2 separate regions of the Homo sapiens genome follow, and region 1 is linked to region 2. Evidence: promoter capture Hi-C in human tissues and cell types (Jung and others, 2019). All regions are on one chromosome and are shown on one strand. The core of a region is centred on a gene start or on the middle of the fragment in contact, and the rest is flanking DNA. Distances in the headings are between cores, read along the strand shown.

What was found. The method cuts DNA at HindIII sites, captures the fragments that hold promoters and counts their contacts. A contact is called where the count stands out against the background at its distance.
Region 1: a fragment that was not itself captured here is called in contact with the fragment with the promoter of GHR in region 2 in 1 of the 25 tissues and cell types used here (aorta).

Annotation. Positions count from the first base shown.
Region 1 is chr5:40,916,862-40,921,948 of GRCh38, forward strand. The region is part of intron 1 of C7 (complement C7); the gene reads left to right. Among named protein-coding and RNA genes, the nearest start is that of C7, 9.9 kb to the left of the region's middle. The HindIII fragment of the contact is 5,596 bases long and covers 1-4,180 here.
Region 2 is chr5:42,419,828-42,424,688 of GRCh38, forward strand. GHR (growth hormone receptor) reads left to right here and starts at 3,612. Exons shown (of 10, transcript NM_000163.5): 1 at 3,612-4,128. RefSeq lists promoters at 2,895-3,980, 3,404-3,976, 3,586-3,686, 3,884-4,652, 4,305-4,652 and 1 more, cis regulatory regions at 2,895-3,403, 3,741-3,781 and an enhancer at 3,608-3,757. The HindIII fragment of the contact is 10,174 bases long and covers 1,544-4,861 here.

The DNA.
Region 1 (5,087 bases), core at 133-2,632, 1.5 Mb before region 2:
CCCATACTTTTGTAGGGAGAATACTTAAAATCTACTCTCTTAGGAGTTTTTAAGAATATAATACATTGTTCTAGAGCAGCCTGGCCAACATAGTGAAACCCAGTCTCTACTAAAAATTCAAAAATTAGCCAGGCATGTTGGCGCTCACCTGTAATCCCAGCTACTTGGGAGGCTGAGGCAAGAGAATCACTTGAATCTGGGAGGCAGAGGTTGCAGTGAGCCAAGACTGTGCCAATGCACTCCAGCCTGAGTGACAGAGCGAGACTCCATCTCAAAAAAAAAAAAAAGAAAAAGAATATAATATATTGGTATTAAGTAAGTCACCATTTTGTATGATAGATCTCTTGAACTTATTCCTTCTATGTAACTGAAGTTTTGTAACCTTTGACCAACATCTCTTCAACAATCCCCACCCTGCCCCCATGGCCCTTGGTAACCATTTTACTCTTTACTTATTAGACTTCAACATTTTTAGATTCCAAATATAAGTATTTTTCTAGAAAGAAAAATACTGAATGTTTTATTTCTGCTTGTTTTATTTCACTTAACATAATGTTATCTGGGTTAATCCATGTTGTCACAAATGACAGAATTTTCTTCTTTTTTTAAGGCCAAGTACTATTTCATTGTGTCTCTTTACCACATTTTCTTTATCCCCTTATCCTTTGATGGACACTTAGGTTGGTTCTGTATCTTGGCTATTGTAAATAATGCAGCAATGAACATGGGAGTGCACATTTCTCTTTGATATACTGATTTCATTTACTTTGGCTATATACCCTGTAGGGGATTGCTGAATCATATGCTTGTTCTATTTTTAATTTTTTGAAGATCCTTCAAACTTCTATTTAAAATAGAAACTTAAAAAGATAAGCAGAGTCACTTAGCCTTCTCCATGGTTCTTTCACTTTTTATACTGCCAAGTCACAAATCTTGACTTGTACAAATGTAATAGTTTTCAAATCATTTAAGAAATGTAAGCTAGAACTATTAATGACAACTATAGTAACACTAAAATAACTTTTCAAAGGATACACATGATGTAAATTCTGACATCAAAAAAATATAAACTGTTTGACGGGAGAGTAAAAATGTAGAGTTGTATGCAAAGTTAAGTTGTAATCACCTTGAAATAAGCTGTTGTGATTATAAGATGTTCTCTGGAAGCCTCATAATAAGCACAAAGCAAAAATCTTTAGTAGAAGCACAAAACAGAAATAGTATTCAAAGAATACCACTATTGAAAACTGCGAAACCACAAAGACAACAAGACAGAAAGAAAGAAAAATGTATCTTCCAGCCTGGGCAACATAGGGTGGCCCTATCTCTACAATAACTTCAAAAAAAATTAGCTGGATGTGGTGGCACGTACCTGTGGTCCCAGCTACTCACAAAGGCTGAGGTGGGAGCATCATTTGAGCCTGGGAGGTCGAGGGTGCAGTGAGCTGTGATCACACTACCGCACTCCAGCCTGGGCAAGAGAGGCCCTATCTCCAAAAAAAAAGTATCTACAATACCACAACAACAACAACAAGAAAAACAACAACAACAACATAACAAAATGGCAGTAGTAAGTCCTTATCTATCAATAATTACCTTGAATGTAAATGAATTAAGTTCTCCAGTAAAAAGATATAGAGTAAGTGAATGAATAAAAAAACAAGAGCCAACTATACGTTACCTGCAGGAAACTCACCTCACTTTTAAGGGCACACAGATTGAAAATTAGGCAATGGAAGAAAGATATTCCACATCAATAGAAACCAAAAGAAAGCAGGGATAACTATACTTATATAAGACAAAATAGACTTAAAGTCAAAAACTGTAAAAAAAAAAAGTAAGGACATTATATGATGATAAAGGAGTCAACTCATCAAGAGGGTATAACAATTGTAAATATATATGCACCCAACTTCAGAGAACCTAAATATATAAAATAAATATTAAGGATATGATGGAAGAGACAGATTGCAATACAATTATAGTAGGGTATTTCAATACGCCACTTTCAACAATGAAAGATAATCCAGAAAATTAGTAAGAAAACATTGGATTTGAAAATCGCTTTAGACCTAATGAATCTAACAGACACACACACACACACACACACACACACACACACACACACACAGAACATTCCATCCAACAGCAACAGAATGCACATTCTTCTCAAGTGCACACAGAACTTTCTCCAGGACAGATAACATTTTAGGGGGAAAAACAAGCTTCAGCAAATTTAAGAAGATTGAAATTATATCAAGTATCTTTTTTTTTTTTTTTGAGTTGGAGTCTTGCTCTGTCACCCAGCCTGTAGTGCAGTGGTCTGATCTCAGCTCACTACAACCTCCACCTCCCAGGCTCAAGTGATTCTCCCACCTCATCCCTTCCGAGCAGCTGGGACTACAGGCGTGCACCACCACATCCAGTTAATTTTTGTATTTTTAGTAGAGACGGGGTTTCACCATGTTGGCCAGGCTGGACTCAAACTCCTAACCTCAAGTGATCTGCCCACCTTGGCCTCCCAAAGTGCTGGGATTACAGGTGTGAGCCACCACAACTGGCCTCAAGTATCTTTTCTGACCACAGTGATATGACACTAGAAATCAATTATGGGAGGAAGCTAGGTGTCATGTTATGCACCTGTAGTCCCAGCTAATTGGAAAGCTGAGGTGGGAGGATTGCTTAAGTCCAGGAGTTCAAGGCTGCAGTAGCTATGACTGTGCGAGTGCACTCCAGCCTGGGTGACAGAAAAAGACCCTGTCTCTAAAAATAAATAAATAAAAATAAATGAATGAATATAGGGGGAATTTTGAAAAATCCACAAATATATGGAAATTAGCATGCTCCTCAACAACCAATAGGTCAATGAAATTAAAAGGGAAATTAAAAATCTTTAGATAACAAGATAAAAATCTTGTTATCTTAAGATAAACAAAAATGGAAACACAACATAGCAAACATATGGGATACAGCAAAAACAGTTCAAAGAGGAACGTTTATAACAATAAATGTCTACATCAAAGAGAAGAAAGATTTAAAATAAATAAGCTAATGTCATACCTCAAGGAAACAGAAAAAGAAGAATAAACTAAGCCAAAGTTAGCATAAGAAAGGAAATAATAAAAATCAGAGCAGAAATAAATGAAATAGAGACTAGAAAAACAATACAAAAGATAGATAAAATAAGTTCTTTTTTGAAAAGATGAACAAATTTGACAAACTAGATTAATTTAAAAAAAAGAAGATTCATAATACCACAAAAATACAAAAGATCATCAGGGACTATCATCAACAATTATACATCAACAAATTGGATAACTAAGAAGAAGTGGTTAAATTCTTCTGTTCATTTAGGTCCTGTAAAGTGTTTCTGTAAAGTGTTGTTCAAGTTGAATGTTTTCTTATTAATTTTCTGTCTGGATGATCTTCCAGCATTGAAAGTGAGGTATGGAAGTTTTCTACTGTTACATTGCAATCCATCAGATCCTGTGGATCTGAAGAAAGAGATGGGTTGCAATACAATATTTACATATTGTATAAATATAAATATCTGTTTTATATGTTTAGGTGCTCCAAAGCATACAACATACAAAGACTGAATCATAAAGAAATGGAAAATCTGAACATACCAATAATGAGTAAAAAGATTGAATCTGTAATAAAAGTTCTCCCATTAAAAAAAAAAAAAAAAAAGCAGAGGACTTGATGGCTTCATGGCTGAATTCTACCAAACATTTATTTTTTATTTTTCCTCACTGTCACCATTTTTATTCAATATAATACTGAAAGTCCTAACGATAGCAATTAGGCAAGACAACAAAATAAATGGCATTCAAATTTAAAGGGAAGAGGTCAAGTTATTCTTGCTTTTAAACAACATGAACTTATATTTAGAAAAAAATGTAGGCTGGGCATGGTGGCTCATGCCCATAATCCCAGCACTTTGGGAGGCCAAGGAGGGTGGATCACCTGAGGTTAGGAGTTTGAGACCAGCCTGCCCAACATGGGGAAACCCCATCTCTACTAAAAATACAAAACTTCACTGGGCGTGGTGGTGCACGCCTATAATCTCAGCTACTCAGGAGGCTGAGGCAGGAGAATTGCTTGAACTTGGGAGGCTGAGGTTGCAGTTAGCCAAAATGATGCCACTGCACTTCAGCCTGGGCGACAGAGCAAGACTCTGTCTCCAAAAAAAAAAAAAAATGAAAGACTACACTAAATAAATCTTAGCAGTGATAAATTAATTCAGTAAATTTGCAGGCTACCAAATTAACATGCAAAAATCAGCAGCATTCCTACATGCTAACAGAGATGGTTCTGAAAAGAAAATCAAGAAATAAATTCCATTTATAAAAGCTATAAAATAAAATACCAAGGAATAAATTTAATCAAAGAAGTTAAAGATTCTACAAAAAATACTATAAAACACTGATGAACGTAATTTAAGAGAACACAAAAAAGGAAAGATATCCCATGCTCATGGATTGGAAAAATTAATACCATTAAAATATCTATACTCCCCAAAGTGATCTACAGATTCAATGTAATCTCTATCAAGATACCAATGAAATTATTCACAGACATAGAAAAAATTCTAAAAATTTATGAAACAGCAAAAGACTCCAAGTAGCTAAAGAAATTCTGAATAATAACAGTGCTGGAGGTATCACACTACCTGCTTTTAAATTATACTACAAAGCTACAACAAAAGTAGATTATTAAAAAAAACAAAAGTAGTTTATACAAAAAAAAAAAGTAGTATGCTAACAAAAATAGCATACTACTGTCCTAAAAACAGACACATAGATGGCTGAACAGGATAGAGAACCAAGAAATAAATTCACGTATTTACAACCAACTCATTTCTGACAAAAGTGGTAAGAACATACATTGGGCTGGGCATGGTGGCTTATGCCTGTAATCCCAGCACTTTGGAAGGCCGAGGTGGGTGGATCACGAGGTTAGGAGTTCGAGACCAGCCTGACCAACATGGTGAAACCCCGTCTCTACTAAAAAAAATACAATAATCAGCCAGGCGTGGTGGTGCGCAACTGTAATCCCAGCTACTCAGGAGACTGAGGCAGGAG
Region 2 (4,861 bases), core at 2,362-4,861:
TATAGGCCAAGAAATGGAGTCATTGTGAGATTAGTAACTAATTTACCCAAAATCACAGAGGACCCACACAGGATCCCAAGGCTCCTGACTAACAATCCTATGTTCTTCAACTACAAATGCTATAAAACAAAACAGCTATAAAATGCTACTTTAAGTGTTTTGGCCTCTTTTGTTTTGTTTTGAGAAGAAGCTTTGGCATTTTATAGTACAACAGAGTGACTAAAGCCATGCTCTAACCTCAGATAACTGTAGATTTAGGAAGTTTATACTGTGGTGTTTTATGGTTTGGGGAGATGGCGATCTGACCTAGATATCTGCACTTGAATATATATAATCAGAATTATTTTCTAATTGTTTCTATTGTCTTCAAGGCAGTTTATATTTTTTGCTAAGCCCTACTGGGGATGTATAAAAGACTGGGGAAGGGTGGGCCATAATAAGGTAAGGCCATAATAAGGTAAAATAGGTTGGACAAGATAAGTTAGCCAATATCTGAGTAAAGACTTCAAGGAACTGTAGGAGGAAGCAAATGAATATTTGTGGAAGTGTGTTTAAATCAGAGAGAAAAGCCAGCAAAAAGCCTTCAAGTTAGGAGTCTGCCTGGCCTGCTTAAGAAACAGCAGGGAGGCCGGTGTGCTGGGAGCAGAATGGATGACCCAGTGATGGGGAAATTCATGGGAGATGAGGTGTGGGGCAAAGGTACATAGCTCACGTAGGGTCTCATGGGCCATTTTGAATTTTATTCTGATTTGAATGGGGAACCATTGGAGGGTTTTGAGCTGAGGAATGACATGATATTAATTTTAAAAGGAATGACTATGGCAACTGAATTTATACTTTGGGTTGTTGTTGGTGTTGGTTGGGGATTAGGGGTGGGGTTTGTCAAAGCAAGCAGACCAGTTGAGTTGAGAGACTACTGCAGTAATCTGAGAAATTCTGGTGGTTCAGACCAGGTGTCTCTGGACCTCTCCAAGAAAATAGACAGAGTTTTGAATGTGGAATGTGATTGGCAGAGAAGAAGTAAGGATGATTTCAAAGGTTTGTGGCCTGGGTAACTGGCAGGAAGTAGTTGCCATCTACTGAGATGGAAATGTCACCCACTGTGATTGGAGTATGTTTAAGGAGAAAGAACCAGAGTTCAGATGTGGACATGTCAAGTTTCAGAGGTCTGTTAGACATCCAAATGGAGATACCCAGTTGTTAGCCTGGAGCTCTGTGGAGAGATCTGGGTTAGAGATATAAATCCAAGAGATACAACTTTTCATTCAATTTGATTATTTATTGGACGCTTTATAAACTCTGTAAATACTGGGCACTAACCTAGACATTGCAGGTACAGATATTAAGAATATATAGTTTCTCCCTCAGAAATCTCTTAATTAATGAGAAAAGCAGACATGTCAACAAAACTGCAATATTTAATAAAAGAAGATATAAAGGCCTATAAAGGTGCTGATACAGGGAGAATTAATTAATTCCACCCTGGGGAATAGTCAGGAAGACCTTCAGAGAGAAAGTAAACAATTGATTGGAACTTTAAGATTAAGAAGGATTTCTCTGGGTGGACAAAGTAGGATCTTCCAAGCAGAGTGGAAACCATGAGCAAATGCAGTTTCATTCTTCAGAAGGTAAATGTGCTCTGGCATGCCTTAACTTATAACAAATTAATCAACTCAATACCTGCTACATTTTCCCTCACAATTTGGAATATATAAAGAGGCACATACTACTATGGACCAATACCTGGTCATATATGAGATTGAAGGACCTTTACTTACGAGGCTTAAAAATAAAGACTGCCCTTCATGTCAGTTGCAGGTTTATATCTAGTTCTATAGTATTAACTGAGGTGTCTTTTCCTATGTTTTCTGTGCATGATGACTTTTTAAAAATCAAAGACAGAGCAGCAGCCAGAGTAGTCTAGTTTCATGGCACACAGAATGGAGGATATTGCTGAACCCAGATTTAAAAAAAAAAAGAAGTCAATTCTTATTTTTTTAAGTATGGCCCTGAGCTCATCTCAGAGCATAAACAATAGAATTTAGAATATCTTTTATGACTCCGTCTGGCACCTCCTAAACTAGATCAAGATTCTCTAGCTCAGGGAAGAAGGGCAAAGGATGAGAAGGCACAGAGAGGATATAAACAGAGAGGTTGGTAGTGCCAGGCTCTGAAGAAGGTCCAACTTGGAAGGTCATTTCAGACAGGCGTGGAGTCAGCATTTGAGGCCTGTCTGGTCTCTACTCCTGCCAGGACTACCCTGTCAGCCAGCTTGGCAGGTATGGACCACCCAGCAGGAGTTTTTCTTGACTGTGCCCTAATCTTTTACTTTCCCAAGTTTCTCTATATGGGTACCTCCCCTTTTAAAAGCTCCAGACACAGCCAAGCACCACTATTGCTCCAGCAAAGTATGAAGCCCCAGAAATCAATGGTTTGGGGAAGAGTCTTAGGGGAACTAAATGCCTCCTTATTTTTAGATGCCATAGAACAAGAGCAGTTCAGGATCAATAACCATCCCACCCCATGATAAAACACGCCCCTTCCAGAATCTTTCCTTTTTCGTTCATTCTAGGTGTCTGTCTGGAACAGCTGGGGTATTTGAGCCACAGCTGAGCTTCTGAAAGCATTCTAAGGAACAGTTTTTCACTTATCTGATTCCTTTGAAAATAGGGGTATCTTATGTGATATCTGCTATCCCAGAGTCTTTGGTCCTCTGTTCCTTCTCAAGTCTTGGCTCCCGTGTACTACTTCAAAGCCCTATAGATATTTTATTCTAAAGAAAAGAAACTTGGTTCCTTTAAGTTGTTTAAACATTTCTTTCTGGGTATAAACTTGGGTTTGTGTCTGGGAGCTCTGTTAAAAAAAAAAAGTCTTTAGTAAGCCAAAGCTGTTAGAAGCTTATAAGTAAGTGACATTACAATTGACCGTCAGTAAATAGTGGAAAGATTGCATGACTAGCTACTCCTTCAGATCTGAGACAACCTGGAGCTAGATTTTTGTACTCTCTACTCAGAAAAGCATATAGTGACTTGGGGTTTGATGCTGTACAAAAATGACATGCTTATGCACAACTTTAACTTTCTGCAACACTTTTACAACTTCTTGTGAATGAAGTAGGCAGGGCTCGCATTTGACAGATGAGCTATGTCCAGCGTGAGGCAGAGTTAAAACCCTTTTCCTGGCTCAGGAACTTCAGGCTGGGGCCTGTGTCTGCTCTCCCTGCATCCCTGTCCTCTAGCAGATACCTCTCTGCTAACATGCTGAGTGTCCTTGGTAAATTACTCATTCTCTCTGTCTCCGTCTTCTAACCTCCACAATAAAGTCCTTCGTAGTTTTAACTATCTTTTCACTGTGCCCCAGTGAGCAGGAGTTTGGAACTTGATTGTTGATGGAAAGGCAATATTTGGATGGCTAAACACGCTTTCCAAGGTATCTCGCTGATCTTCCTCTCATTCCTGGAGATAGCTAACCTTTTTGTAAGTGTTTCTTTGAGTCTGTGGACTGCACTTAACGCTCTTGTAGGTCCTGCTTTCATTTGGAACGGGCAGGCGGAGAGGAAGGAAGTGTATTGCAACTACCAATATTTTCCTCTAGGAGGAGCCGCGCAGCTCAGTTGAGAGTGACACGCACCAACTCCAGCTCCTCGCCGGGAAGACTTCATCCCAGCAACTCGGAATGCTTGGCCCGGGCGGCACTCGGCCTCTCCGCAGCAGTTCTCGAACTGGCCTCCTTGAACGTCCGCTTCGCCTTCGCTTCTGCAACCTGGATCTGGGGGACTGCGGGCCAGGCGCGGCGTGACCCCTGGTGAACGGTGGCCGCCTTTTCCCACCCCTGCCCTCCCATCCTCCCTTCCCGTTTCACCCCGCCCCCTCTCTCCTCCCCAAGCCTGACAGCCCGCGAGCTGCCAAGCAGGGCGCAGCCATGGGAAGAGGAGGAGGGCTAGGGAGCGGCGGCGGCGGCGGCAGCGGCAGCAGCAGCTGCTACAGTGGCGGTGGCGGCGGCGGCTGCTGCTGAGCCCGGGCGGCGGCGGGGACCCCGGGCTGGGGCCACGCGGGCCGGAGGCCCCGGCACCATTGGCCCCAGCGCAGACGCGAACCCGCGCTCTCTGATCAGAGGCGAAGCTCGGAGGTACTGGAGTGGGGCTCCGGGAGTCTGGCTTTATTTTCCTCCTGTTGTGCCAGGGGGCCTGAGGGTGAACCCTGGGACTCTAGTTGTTTATGAAAACGGGAGGATCTGTCTTATATATTTACACGGATAATTTTTTATTCCGGATGACTTGGCTGTGCTCCCCTCCTCCTTGCGAAGAAGTTGTTTTCTGCTGGTGGGTTGTTGTAACCCAATCTAGTGTGTGTGTGTGTGTGTGTGTGTGTGTGTGTGTGTGTGTGTGTGTGTCTGGAAGTTGGTGAGGGCGGCAGGGAGTTGCGGGCGACAGACGAACCATCACACTCTGGCGTCTGCTCTGGCCCGCGAGTAGTGTACGTGGAGGGGTTTACTCCGGAGACAGTTTTGTTAAAGTCATAAAAGTTTTGCTAGTGTGTTTCTGTTTGCCATCATCTGCCTGGCTGCGGCAGGAACTGCCGAGGCTGCTGCTGTTGCGCGGGGAAGAATCCCCGGCAGCGCGACTGGAGAGACTGGGGAGGTCGAGCTGTGCGCGTGGACACAGCGCGCAGAGCGCGCGGTCTTTTGCGCGTTTGTGCGGGCCGCAGCCGCACGTTGGCACCGATGGAACTGGGGTCAGTAGAGTGACAGCCACCAGTCCGCATGAACTGGGGTAAGTGGAAATTGTGGCGAGCCGACCTCCCCCAGCTTTTGACACACTAGTGGTTGTAAAATCAACCAGGCTTAAAGTTTTGACAGAACT